2 separate regions of the Homo sapiens genome follow, and region 2 is linked to region 1. The links are contacts of gene promoters, found by promoter capture Hi-C in blood cells and fetal thymus (Javierre and others, 2016). All regions are on one chromosome and are shown on one strand. The core of a region is centred on a gene start or on the middle of the fragment in contact, and the rest is flanking DNA. Distances in the headings are between cores, read along the strand shown.

Region 1 (6,649 bases), core at 3,048-5,547:
GATAGTATCATTAGTATTGTTATTTTGAGACAGTTGGGTATGTGATATGGGATAAAGGAAATGAAAATAGATATTTAAATACTGTTGTCCCTTATGTTCTTGAGAACTAGTATTCTCAGTGTGGAAGAAAGGAAATAAAGATGTAATATAGAAAATATTAAATTAAAATTCTGCAGTCTTACTTTGGGAGGCTGAGGTGGGCAGATTGCTTGAGTCCAGTAATTCAAGACCGGCCTGGGCAACATGGTGAAACCCTGCCTCCACAGAAAATACACAAATTAGCTGGGCATGGTGGTGCACAACTGTAGTCCCAGCTACTTGGCAGGCTGAGGTGGGAGAATCGCTTGAGCCTGGGAGTTTGAGGCAGCAGTGAGTCATGATTGCACCTCTGTACTCCAGCCTGGGCAACAGAGGGAGATCCTGTCTCAAAAAAAACAAAACAAAAAGCAACCCATAAAACCAAAAGCCAAAACCAAACCCAACCTCTGTAGTCTTGAATTTGAAGTAGCAGTATAAATATTCTCTATTTATATCTCTATGGATATAGATCTCCCCCTAGCTCCATCCACTAATGTGGCTTACAAGTAACAAACAATTCAGTAGCAATAAGCATCCCTAGTGCCCAGATTGTGGTCTTAATATACCATTTCCCACAGAAAACCATATGAATTTCTTGAAGAAATGGCTAATTTTTATGCCTAGGGCAGGAAGTACAAGATTAGCTAGGAACTCTTGTCATGCTAGATAGCAGGGAGCTATCAAAAACCTCCAGGGTTATGTCAAAAGGACTCAAGAATCAAGTTGAAGAGGAGGCTCCATTGTTATGGTACTGTATTAGTCTGTTCTTGCACTGCTATAAAGAACTACCTGAGACCAGGTGATTTATAAAGAAAAGTGCTTTAATTGACGCACAGTTCTGCAGGCTATACAGGAAGCATGGCTGGGGAAGCCACAGGAAACATACAATCATGGCAGAACGTGAAGGGGAAGCAAGCACATCTTCACATGGCAGAGCAGGAGAGAGAGGGCAAAGGGGGAAGTGCTACACACTTTTGAACAACCAGATCTCTTGAGAACTCACTGTCATGAGAACAGCAAGGGGGAAGTCTGCCCCATGATCCAAACATCATGACCTCCCACCAGGCCCCTCCTCCAACATTGAGGATTACAATTCAACATGAGATTTGGGTGGGGACACAGAGCCAAACCATATCAGGTACCATGAATGTCAACATGAGAAAATACAAGTATATTGTGGAAAATGAGAATCAAGTTTCCTACTATTGCAGAAGGGAGGTAAAATTATAGAGAAGAGGAAGACTAGAGGAAAATATGTGGTATTGGATTGGAATTTGAGGTATTGGTGTGAACTCATATTTTATATATACATATATATTTTGATATATGTGCACATATATATGCTCACATATACATAGATCTATATATACATATACACATCTATATGCACACATATTTAAATATATTTCATAGAAATATAGATGAATGGGTGTGTATATCAATATTCATTTATTTGCTAGGTCTAGTCACTGAAATAGACTGGAAATAATGACATCTCAGTAGCAATAAACACACCTAGCATCCAAACTTGGCTTCTAAATACCATTCCTTACTAAAAGGAACTAAGGCTCTTTGGAGAAATGAATGATGTGACAGATGTGAAAATCTATGACATAACTTATGAAAATGGCAGAGAGATGATCAGCCTCCACCCAACTGGAATGGTTGATGAAAGCTGAATGAGATTGTAAGTTACATGGTATTATTGTATTTATTAATTTCTTGATTTTGCTGGGTTGTACTGTGGCTGTGACATAGAATATATCCTTGTTTTCAGGAAATACAGAAATACTTTGGGTAATGTCTGTAATTGGCTCTTAAACGGATCGGGTGGAAAAACAAAAGAACAATATGCATAGTGAGAGAGTGAGAGAGAAAGAATGATGAGGTAAATGTAAACTATTAACAACTGGGGACTTTGGGTTAAGGGTATGAGGGCATTATTTTGTAATATTTTTGCAACTGTACTGTAAACTTGAAATTATTTCAAAGTAAAAAGTCTCAAGAATATTTGAGCACAGGGGAAATATTCAAGCTAGGTAAAATATGTAGATTACTAAACAAATGTACAGTGTAATCTAAATTTTGTTGAATATACATATTTAAGATTCAGTAAAATTATACTTTTAGAAGCATAAAACAAAGTTAACAATTGTCATCTATTGGTGATAGAATAGCCATGCCCCTCTTAAAGCCAAAAGGCTAGCAGATATCAAGACCTACTCTAAAGTTAGAGAAATCAAGACGTGTGACATTGGCACAATGACAGAAAAATACACCCATGGCACAGAATAAGAGTCAAAAATTGACCCAGACATACATAGTCACCGGATTTATGACAAAGCTGCCACTGAAATTCAGTGGGAACAAAATTTTTAAATAGTGCTGGATCAATTGTACACCCATATGGAAGAGATGAATCTTGATGTCTAACTCCTATCATATACAAAGATTAATGTGAAATTAATCATAGACCTAAATGTGAAAGATAAAATAACACAGAAGAAAACCTAGGATAGTATCTTCATAACGAGGGCAGGCAAAGATTTCTTACATAGGACACAAAAGGCACTAACCATCACAACAAAATTTCAGGCCGGGCGTGGTGGCTACCGCTTGTAATCCCAGCACTTTGGGATCACCTGAGGTCAGGAGTTCGAGCAGCCTGGCCAACGTGGTGAAACCCCGTCTCTACTAAAAATACAAAAATTAGCCGGGCGTGGTGGCAGGTACCTGTAGCCCCAGCTCCTCAAGAGGCTGAGGCATGAGAATCTCTTGAACCCGGGAGGCGGAGGGTGCAGTGAGCCGAGATCGGCCACTACTGCACTCCAATCTGGGCGACAGAGCAAGACTCCGTCTCAAAAAAAAAAAAAAGTTTTAAAATGAAATTAAATTATCTAATACCATTAAGAGTAAAAAAAAAATCATGAACTGGGAAAGTATTCACAATATATAATTTTGATAAATTATGGAGCTCAGGTGCAAGTAACTTAGTAGGCAGGAGAGGAAGGAGTCTAAAGAAGTCTAGTTAGGAAGGATTACTGAAAGAGGGGGTATATCTAAAAATGGGTAGGATGGGAAAGGGAGACTTTGGGAACAGCCATGGGTTCCTAATGCGCCCACAACATACATGGGAGTTATCCTGAAGATAAACTCCCTGAAGACAGTGAAAGCCATTTCAAAACTCCCCATATAACTTATGAGAACAGAGGGGTGATCTGCCTTTAATGTTAGGCCTTCTGAGATCCTGCGATCTGTTCGCTCTCCTCAGTAACATTACCCTGCTCAATTGCTGCCTTAATCCCAGGTCGCACATTGGAATGTGGGAATTCAGCGTTTACATTTACCCACACAGGATCAGCCTTCAGCTGCTACGATCAACTTCAGTATTTTCATATAATCACTTTTTTCTTTCCTTAGTTCTTGAATTATTAATTCCTTGAGAAGAGTCCAATCAGAGGTAGTCTTTCTTCAGTATTTTCGGTAATCCTAATTTCTGTGCAAAAAAATTTCTGTTCCATTTTAACCGTGCAGAACTTTCTGTTATCTAAAACACAGTTTCTCTATGAGAGTTCAGTGAAAATTCCCCTTCCCAAACTGATTCTATGAATGACTGTTAGATAAGCTTCACCACTGCATGTAGAGGGTGTACCAGGAACCCAAGTTAGTAGCTCTCCTCAAAGACCCAACTTTTGGAGGGGGTCATCGTCTGGTTCCTGGTATGCCTCCACAGGTAGGTCCGCCTCAGGAAGTCAGCGGCGAGGAGCACAGAAGAGGCTGCCTTCACCAACGGACAGCAGTTTTCATCGTGAGGGCCGTCGGCAACCGCTTGGATGTGTCTAAAGGGGCCGTTTGGGAACCGGCCCTTCTGGAGGGAAGGGTCGGAGTGGGAGGGGATCCGGGATCCGCCTTACGGCCGAGTGTCCAGCAGCGCGTTCCAACCTGGCAGAACCGACGTACTTCATATGCTCCTCAGGGGAGCGCGGGAATCACCAGGCTGAAGAATGACTGGAAATGGGACCCTCTCCAACCAAAGCACCCAGACATTCCGGCGCCGGACATTTCAAAGAGCGCGGAAGCCACGCCTTCCCCCAGAACCGGAAGCTTTGCAACTAGCGCCTCTTGTAGACTGGCTGTTTATAAGGGGGCGGGGGGCCACAGCGGGAACTGCAACTCCCAGAATGCAGCGCGGAATTTCCGGTTTCCGGCGAGAGGGCCAGAGTGAGTGTTTACACCGGCGGCAGTGCGGCCGGGTTCCTTCCGCGGGACGGGTGAGGGCGCTGGGGCCCTGGGCAGCGCGGGCTCGATGTGTGTCAGCCAAGTAGCTGGTCCCACTGGAGCGGTGAGGTCGCCACCGGATAGTGTTCCTGCCCCATTACTAGCGATCTGTGACCTTGGGCCAGTGATTTTACTGAGTCTTGCTTCCCTCATCTTTAAAATGTGGCTAATGCCTGCCTTAGGGAACCGTTGTGAGGATTAAGTGAGACATGGTATATAAAACGACCTCCTTCTGGCATAAACTTGAGGTGGAAGATACCTTGAGGATGCTTGAAGGTCTGCTAGGCAGCTTCACAGCCTTTTCTTTCCTCTTCTCTATCAGAGGTCTCTTTGGAAGCAATAATGATGACTATAACAAGAACTTATCTTGCTTTGCAAGATTCTTCCGCCGTCAGAGTTTCTGATTTATTTTCTGGGGTTCCATGTATGCCAGGTATGGGGACAAGGATGAAGAAAACTTTAGTCTTTTGTTTTCAAGGGCATTCAAGAATTGGGGTGGAGGAGGGGGCAAGCAGATATTTGTAGCCCTTTTGTTCTGAGGGGATGTGGGAACAACAGAGGAAAGAGAGGGGACTGAGGTTATTGAATCTGTGTTGGTTTCGGTAGGAGTTTGCTAAAAGGCCAAAAAGGGAAGAGAAATTACATGCAGAGTTAGATGAGCAGAGGTGTAAAATAGGGGAGAGCTTTGTTATGAGTGTGTACTTACATGTTGTGGAGGTCCTTTGCAGGGGTAGGGCTCTGTTGGGGAATGAGGCTGGCAGGGAGTTTTGTAAGCCAGGCGATGAAGTTTAGACTTAATTTATATAGATGGTTTAGAGGTATTGGAAGAGGTCTTTTTCTGGGGGGCCGGGGTGGGGCAGGGAGGGACGGAGTCTCTGTCGCCCAAGCTGGAGTGCAGTGGCGCTATCTCGGCTCACTGCAACCTCCACCTCCCGGGTTCAAGCAATTCTCCTGCCTCAGCCTCTCAAGTAGCTGGGATTACAAGCGCCTGCCACCACGCCCTGCAAATTTTTTCTATTATAGTAGAGATGTAGTTTCACCATGTTGGCCAGGCTGGTTTCAAACACCTGATCTTAAGTGATCCGTCCTCCGCGGCCTCCCAAAGTGACAGGATTACAGGTGTGAGCCACCGCGTCTGGCTTTTTTTTTTTTTTTTTTTTTTTTTTTTGCGACAGAGTCTCTCTCTGTCACCCAGGCTGGAGTGCAGTGACGTGATCTTGGCTCACTGCAACCTCAGCCTTCCGAGTAGGTGGCACTACAGGTGCGCACTACCACGCCCAGCTAATTTTTGTATTTTTAGTAGTGACGGGTTTCACCATGTTGGCCAGGCTGGTCTTGAACTCTTGAGCTTAGGCAATCCGCCCGCCTAGGCCTCTCAAAGTGCTAGGGTTACAGGCATGAGCCACCGCGCCCAGCCCGACATTGGAAGAGTTCTAAGCAGAGAAGTGACTTGGTCAGATCTGTGTTTTAGAATGATGGGTTGTGGCCAGGCGCAGTCGCTCATGCCTGTAATCCCAGCACTTTGGGAGGCCGAGGCAGGTGGATCACGAGGTCAGGAGATCGAGACCATCCTGGCTAACACAGTGAAACCCCGTCTCTACTAAAAGTACAAAAAAAAAAAAAAATTAGCCTGGCGTCGTGGCGGGTGCCTGTAGTCCCTGCTACCTGGGAGGCTGAGGCAGGAAGGCAGGAGAATGGCGTGAACCTGGGAGGTGGAGCTTGCAGTGAGCCGAGATCGCGCCGCTGCACTCCAGCCTGGGCAACAGAGCGAGACTCCGTCTCAAAAAAAAAAAAAAAAATGATGGGTGTTGTTAGGTGGCAGCATAGATATTTGATAGGGAGAGGCAAGAGGCAGGGAACTTGTTATAAAGCTGTTCTACTGGTTCAAGCAACAGTTGAAGAAAATTGGAAAAAGGGGCATACAGAAGGGAGAGGGTTAGATGATCTCTCTCACAACATTCCTATTAGATTGGATGGCGTTTTTATGTCCACGTTAGGGATGAAGAAACTGAGGCCTAGAGAGCTGTCCATCACAGTATGAGTAGAGAGAGAACCCCAGATTCTAGTTCTGGCCTCCTGATGGTACGCCCTATGCCTCTTCAACAGTGTCACATTGAATTGTCTTTCATTCAACCCTTTGGTGGGTGGGGGTGGAGTAGAGTGGTGGTCTGTCTTTTAACCACTGAGGTTTTGTTCTTTTACAGGGAGAAAGAGAGAGCGCGAAAGAGAGAGGATGTCTCTCTCAGACTGGCACCTGGCGGTGAAGCTGGCTGACCAGCCACTTACTCCAAAG
Region 2 (6,649 bases), core at 1,136-3,635, 290 kb before region 1:
CTGTGCTTGAACAGGGCACCCGTGATGTCCCGGACACTGTTCTGAGGGGGCACAAGCTTAGGGGCACCTCTGGCACTTCCAAGGTCAAAGGCTGAACGTTGCTCCACTCCCCTGGCCTGTACCTGGTGGCTGGGTACCCCCCTATCCTCCCAACTTGGTCTCTAGGCAGGGGGTTGCAGCTTGCAGCAGGAGCTGGTAGCAGCCCTGGGTATGGCTTAAAGTGTCATTTTATGCCCCATTGACCCTTCCTCCCAATAACACCAGGGGTCCAATTTCAAAGAAGGAAAAGGTTAGTGTGAACACAGGGAAGCAACGTGACACCAGAGCTGGGGATTAGCCTCTGTTGGGGTTTAGGTTTCTGCAGAATGAAAGCTTTCTCACTCATAGGCCCCCCACATTGCAGGACTCTGCTAGGGCCCCATTTCCAGGGCTTTTTTCTTGGGGGCTTTGAGGAGCCCTGAGAAGGGGGCTTCAAGGATGAGGAAACTGAGGCCCAGAGAAGGGGAAGAGTCGGCTCCAGGTCACACAGCTGGTCTGAGGTGTCCAGAGCCTTCCTAGGCCTTGGCAACACAGCAGCTGTGTGGGCATGCTGGAGCTGGGAGGGAGGGGCTGCACCCAGGCCCTGCAAGGTGCCCCTTGCCACCTGCACCCCGGGCTCACCTTGTCAAAGTCCTGATAGTGCTCCTGGACTGTTTTCTGCAGGAACCACAGGAACCTCTGGTTGAAGGCCTTGAACCTCTGCAGGGCAGGGTTAGGCAGGTAGCGAAGGATGGGGAAGAAGTCCAGGGGGTTCCCGGAGGAGGCAGTCTCCACGAACTCATGAGTGTTCTTCACGAGGCTGAGCATCTCATCGCTACTCTCAGGGAAGTGCTGTCCGAAGCACATGGCACCAATGACGTTGGCCACTGACACCACCACCTGATTGTAAGGGTCGAAGTGCCCAGGCCCTGCCATCAGCTCCTGCAACCTGCTGATCAGGGCCTTAGCCTCCTTGCTCACATGCTCCTCCAGGTAGCAGGAGGATGAGGAAGCTGGGTCAGAGGCGATGGAGAAGGTGTTGAGGGCATTCTGGGCCAGGCGCCGGCGGGCAGCCCACACCGGTCCAGAGTCTGTGCTGAAGGTCAAGCTCTGGCCATCAGTGATGAGGGTGGAGGTGTAGAGGTCAGGCCGGCCCTTGAAATCGTCGCCCTGCCGCACCAGGGCCTGCCGGATGGTGTCCAGGCGGCTCAGCACCAGCACGGGCGTGGAGCCAATGCGGATCTGCAGGACGTCCCCGTAGCGCTGGCTCATCCTTGACAGTGCCAGGTGCGGGTTCTTCCCCAGGGTCAGCACATGCCCGAGCAAGGGCCAGCCCCATGGCTCTGGTGGACTTTTCAGGCCTTTGGGGACCCGAGGCCTCAAACCCTTGAGCACCCAGAATACCAGGCAGAAGATGGCAGAGGCCAGGAGAAGCTCTGTGGCCGAGAAGGGAACAGACTGGGACAATGCCATCTGTACCAACTGCAGGGAAAAAAGGAGGGACCAGGCTGAGGGTTGAGATGGAGACATTCATTCATTCATTTCCTCAGTCATTTGATAAACACTGATGCGTGTTCTGTGCTTGGCTCCCAGCTGGATACCAGAAAGACTAAGCTCCATCTACCATGCGTCCTGGGCCCACAGAGCTCACCCTTTGAGCATCACAGAATCTGAGAGCTGGAAAGGAGCCTCAAGATTCCCAACATGAACGCTGGCTCTCTCCTCCACACATCATCTCAGTTTCCACTTCTGGGGCTGGAGTAGAGGCAAGTGACCACTCCAAAATGGGGAAGCCAAGGACAGCACCCTTGTCAGCCCCTGGCACAGCATGCATGCTGGGTATTGTACCAAAGAGTCCCTGCCAGTGCTGGCTTTCTGCTGATACCTTCCATATACCCAAGGGACCAGGAGTTCCCCCTACCCAGTGACACTGAGGTGGCCAAGGTCCCAGGGCTGGTTCAAATAGCCTGTGATGCCCCCTCCCCAGGGCATTCTTTATCAATACCAGGAGGGGCACCTCCTCCAGGGATGAGTCCCCATCCTCTCACAGTCTTGGAGGTTGGGGTTGGGCTTCAGCCAGGGCCAGGGCTGCCCTTGTGCTAAGGGGGAAGCCCTCCCCATCGCTCTCCTTAAAAATGGCTTAGTCCAAACTGCTCATTTAAAATCGGGAAACAGAAGTCAAGAGCTGGGTAGCAAAGCCCGGAACTCAGGACCCCTACACCTAGCCCAGGCTCCCCGTCTTTCTGTCCCCACTAGCTTCCAGGTTCTATAGTTGGGGATCCCAGAGATTGTAAATTGGTCCCAAGAAAGGTACCTGTAGAGGCAGGTGCTTGAGATTGGCAGGGTTGTAATGGCTGGTGTGGAGCTTCTGGCTCTAGGTGAGTGGCCTTTTTATAAACACCGCCCCCTATCAGATTGGCCTGGTTGTCCTGATCACCTGATATGAAAGCTGGATCACTGAACAAAGTTGGAAGGATCAACTCTTGGCCTTGGGCCATTATCCCTCAGCTCCACCTACTACCTAAGACCCAGGGTGACTCTTTGGGGATAGGCCAGAAGGGGTGCTGGGTCCCTGGGGATGAAGGTACAGCTGTCTTTAGGGTTCAGGGTAGGGAGCCTATTTCTCTGAAGAGTAGGGTAGGGTCTGGGAGTGGGGGTTAGGCCTTTGGACTGATCTGGGCTTCTTTCCCACTGCACACATGAGGAAGAGCTCTGCCAGGGCACTCAGTCTAGGCCAACCAGGCTCACGGCCCCTCTCCAGAGGGATGTTCTTCTGTAGTACCCTCCAACAACCTGCAAAACCAAACAGTAAATGGGCGTGTTCCAGCCACTCCTGATTTTCAGCCCAAGTCCCCAAGTGGAAAAGAAGAGATGATAAAGATTTTGCATCCTAAAGAGAGGCCCCCCTTATGCAAAAAGACTAAGAGACATAACCAAATGCAATATGGATTTGCATTTGATTGCCATATCGATTGGATATGGCATTTAAACAAAATTTTAAAAAAATCTATAAAAGATGTTTTGGGGACAATTGGGGACATGTAAGCACGGACTGGAGATTAGATGATATTCTGGAATAAATGTAAATTTTTTTAGGTGTGAACAGAGTGTCATGGTATGTGGGAGTGTATCCTTATTCTTAGGAGATTAATGCTGTAGCATGGAAGTGTCATGATCCCCACAACCTCCTTTTGAATGGTTCTGTTAAAAAATGTACACCTCTAGGCCAGGCGCGATGGCTCGCACCTGTAATCCCAGCACTTTGAGAGGCCGAGATGGGCGGATCACCTGAGATCAGGTGTTCAAGACCAGCCTGGCCAACCTGGTGAAACTCCGTCTCTACTAAAAATACAAAAATTAGCCAGGCATGGTGGCATGTGCCTGTGATCCCAGCTACTCGGGAGGCTGAGGCAGGAGAATGGCTTGAACTTGGGAGGTGGAGGCTGCAGTGAGCCAAGATCGTGCCACTCCACTCCAGCCTGGGCGACAGAGTGAGACTCCGTCTCAAAAAAAAAAAAAATGTACACCTTTAAAGAGTGTAATTGGATTGTTTGTAACTCAAAGGTTTATCCTTGCTTGAGGGGATGGATACTCCATTCTCCATGAATGCTTATTTCATATTGCATGCCTGTATCAAAACATTTCATGTACCCCATACATATATACACCTACTATGTACCCATAAAATTAAAACAATGTATACCTATCTATCAATAAATCGAGAGAAAGTAGATATGAGAAATGTCAGATATTCATGGACTTACGTGAGGATATATGGTGTTTGTTGTACTAAAGGAGTCTTTAATATGGACCCAGATCTCAGTCAGATCTAAGAGGAGGAGGAGGACAAGCCTTAAATTGGATGTGAAAAGGAAGTTTGCTATCTTTTTTTTTTTTTTTTAGATACAGAGTCTTGCTCTGTCACCCAGGTTGGGGTTCATGTGCCACAATCATGGCTCACTGCAGCCTCGACCTCCTGAGCTCAAACAATCCTCTTGCCTCAGCCTCCTGAGTAGCTGGGACCACAATCACAGGTGTGTGCACCATGCCTGGCTAATTTTTTTATTTTTAAACATTTTTTTGTAGAGAGGAGGTCTTGCCATGTTGCCCAGGTTGGTCTTGAACTTCTGGGCCCAAGCAATCCTTCTGCCTTGGCCTCCCAAACTGCTGGGATTACAGGTGTGAGCCACTGTGCCCGGCATGGATGTGAGAGGGAAGTTTTGATTTAGACTGGAGTGGGCTTTTATTCCTGAAAATGAGAAAACTGTGGGATCAACCTGTGAAGATGCCAAGGCAGATGGATGGGGAATCCAATAGAGAAACAGAGCATGTTTGAAGGCCATGAATGGGAGAAGAGGAAAGTTGTTTCCTGTCTATATCTCCATTGGGTTCAGATGACTCAATGAAAAAGGTCAAGGTTTGAGGTTAGGCTCGGTTTTATAGAAAATGGACTCTTTCTTTCTCTCTGTCTGTCTGTCTCTCTAATTAACTAAAGTTCATGGTTTACTTAGATTTCCTTGCGTTTTACCTAATGTCCTTTTCCTGTTCCAGGACCCATTGGATATCACATGACATTTAGTCATCACGTCTCTTTGGATTCCTCTTGGCTGTGACAGTTTCTCAGGATATCCTTGTTTTTGATGACCTTGACAATTTTCAGGAGTACTGGTTGGACATTTTGTAGGATGCCCACTATTGGAATGTGCCTGATGTTTTTCTTCTCATGGTAAGCCTGGGGTTATGGTTTGTTGGTGGGAAGACCTTGGAGGTTAGGTGCCATTCTCGTCACATCATATCAGGGTTACATCCTATCAATGTGACTTACAGATGTGGATGTTGACCTTGATCACCTGGCTAAGGTAGTGCGTGTCAGGTCTCTTCACTGTAAAGTTACTCCTTTCCCACCTTTCCATACTGTACCTTTTGGAAGGAAGTCACTATGCACAGCCCACACCGAAGGAGTGGGGGATTACGCTCCTTCTCCTTGAGGGGGGATTATCTCCATAAACTATTTGAAATTCTCCTGTATGACAGACTATTTATCTTTTTATTTTTAATGTTTTCTTAAAACTTAAAAAAATTAAATTACAGGATACAATATAGAAAAGTGCATATGTCAGCTGGGACCGGTGACTCACACCTGTAATTCTAGCACTTTGGGAGGCCGAGGTGGGAGGATCACTTGAGTGAGGCCAGGAGTTCAAGACCAGCCTGGCCAACATAGTGAAACCTCATCTCTACTAAAAATACAAAAAAAAATTAGCTGGGCGTGATGGTGCACACCTGTAATTCCAGCTACTCGGGAAGCTGGGGCATGACAATTGCTTGAATCCGAGAGGCGGAGGTTGCGGTGAGCCAAGATCGCACCACTGCACTCCAGCCTGGGTGACAGAGCAAGATTCTGTCTCAAAAATAAATAAATAAATGGAAAAGTGCATATGTCATGTATAGCTCGATCATGTGTAGCTTGATGAATTTTTGCAAACTTAACAAACACACATATAACCAGCTCTAATCAAGAGACATCATAAGCATCCAAGAAGTCCCGTTGTGTTCCTTTCTCAAGGGTACCCATGACCCCAACATCTATTGCATGGATTTGTTTTGCTTGTTGTATTTTACATAAATGAGATCATGTCATATGTACACTTTTTGGAGGGGAGCCAAGGAATTTTAAAAAGCTAATAGATTTTTTTAGAGCAGTCTTTGGTTCACAGAAAAATTGAGTGGAAAGTATGATGAGGGAGGTAAAAGTGGCCATTTACCACCCCCACTCTGCAGTTTCCCCTATTATTAACATCTTGCAGTGGTGTAATATATTTGTTACAATTCGTGGATGAATATTGATACATTCTGGTTGTTGTTGTTGTTGTTTTGAGACAGAGTCTCAGGCCTGGTGTGGAGGCTCACATCTGTAATCTCAGCACTTTGGGAGGCTGATGTGGGCGGATCACTTGAGGTCAGGAGTTCTGGACCAGCCTGGCCAACATGATAAAACCCCATCTCTACTAAAAATACAAAAAAATTAGCCGACCATGGTGGCGCATGCCTGTAGTCCCAGCTACTCAGGAGGCTGAGGCAGGAGAATCCTTTGAACCCCAGAGGTGGAGGTTGCAGTGAGCCAAGATCGCGCCACTGCACTCCAGCCTGCGCCATAGAGCAAGACTCGTCTCAAAAAAAATAATAAAATAAAATAAAGAGAGACAAAGTTTTGTTCTGTTGCCCAGGCTGAAGTGCGGTGGTACAATCTCAGCTCACTGCAACCTCTTCCTCCCAGATTCAAGCGATTCTGGTGCCTCAGCCTCCTGAGTAGCTAGGATTACAGGCACACACCACCATGCTCGGCTAATTTTTGTATTTTTAGTATAGACGGGGTTTCACTGTGTTGGCCAGGTTGGTCTCAAACTCCTGACCTCAGGTGATCTGCCCACCTCGGCCTCCCAAAGTGTTGAGATTACAGGTGTGAGCCACCACGCCCAGCCTCTGATACATTATTATTAACCGACGACCATAGTTTAAATTAAGATGCACTTTGTGTTGTACAGTTCTATGGTCCCCCACCTACACTTTTTTGGTTGTGGTGAAATAATATACATAACATAACATTTAACACTATAGGGCCAGGCATGGT

What was found. Contacts are between HindIII fragments. The CHiCAGO score rates a contact against its expected background, and 5 or more counts as called.
Region 2: the fragment with the promoter of CYP1A2 here is called in contact with the fragment with the promoter of UBL7 in region 1 in 2 of 17 cell types (M2 macrophages and neutrophils); the score reaches 7.1 in M2 macrophages.

The regions. Positions count from the first base shown.
Region 1 is chr15:74,458,808-74,465,456 of GRCh38, reverse strand. UBL7 (ubiquitin like 7) reads left to right here and starts at 4,297. Exons shown (of 11, transcript NM_032907.5): 1 at 4,297-4,420; 2 at 6,561-6,649. The coding sequence starts at 6,590. UBL7-DT (UBL7 divergent transcript) reads right to left here and starts at 4,192. Exons shown (of 4, transcript NR_120377.1): 1 at 3,430-4,192. RefSeq lists enhancers at 2,778-3,278, 4,226-4,375, 4,666-4,755, 4,210-5,056, 5,212-5,731 and 1 more. The HindIII fragment of the contact is 11,059 bases long and covers 4,185-6,649 here.
Region 2 is chr15:74,744,581-74,751,229 of GRCh38, reverse strand. CYP1A2 (cytochrome P450 family 1 subfamily A member 2) reads right to left here and starts at 2,385. Exons shown (of 7, transcript NM_000761.5): 1 at 2,333-2,385; 2 at 661-1,500; 3 at 1-41. The coding sequence starts at 1,491. RefSeq lists promoters at 1,492-2,629, 4,361-4,909, 2,295-5,590, an enhancer at 4,483-4,741 and a cis regulatory region at 3,716-6,649. The HindIII fragment of the contact is 9,803 bases long and covers 375-6,649 here.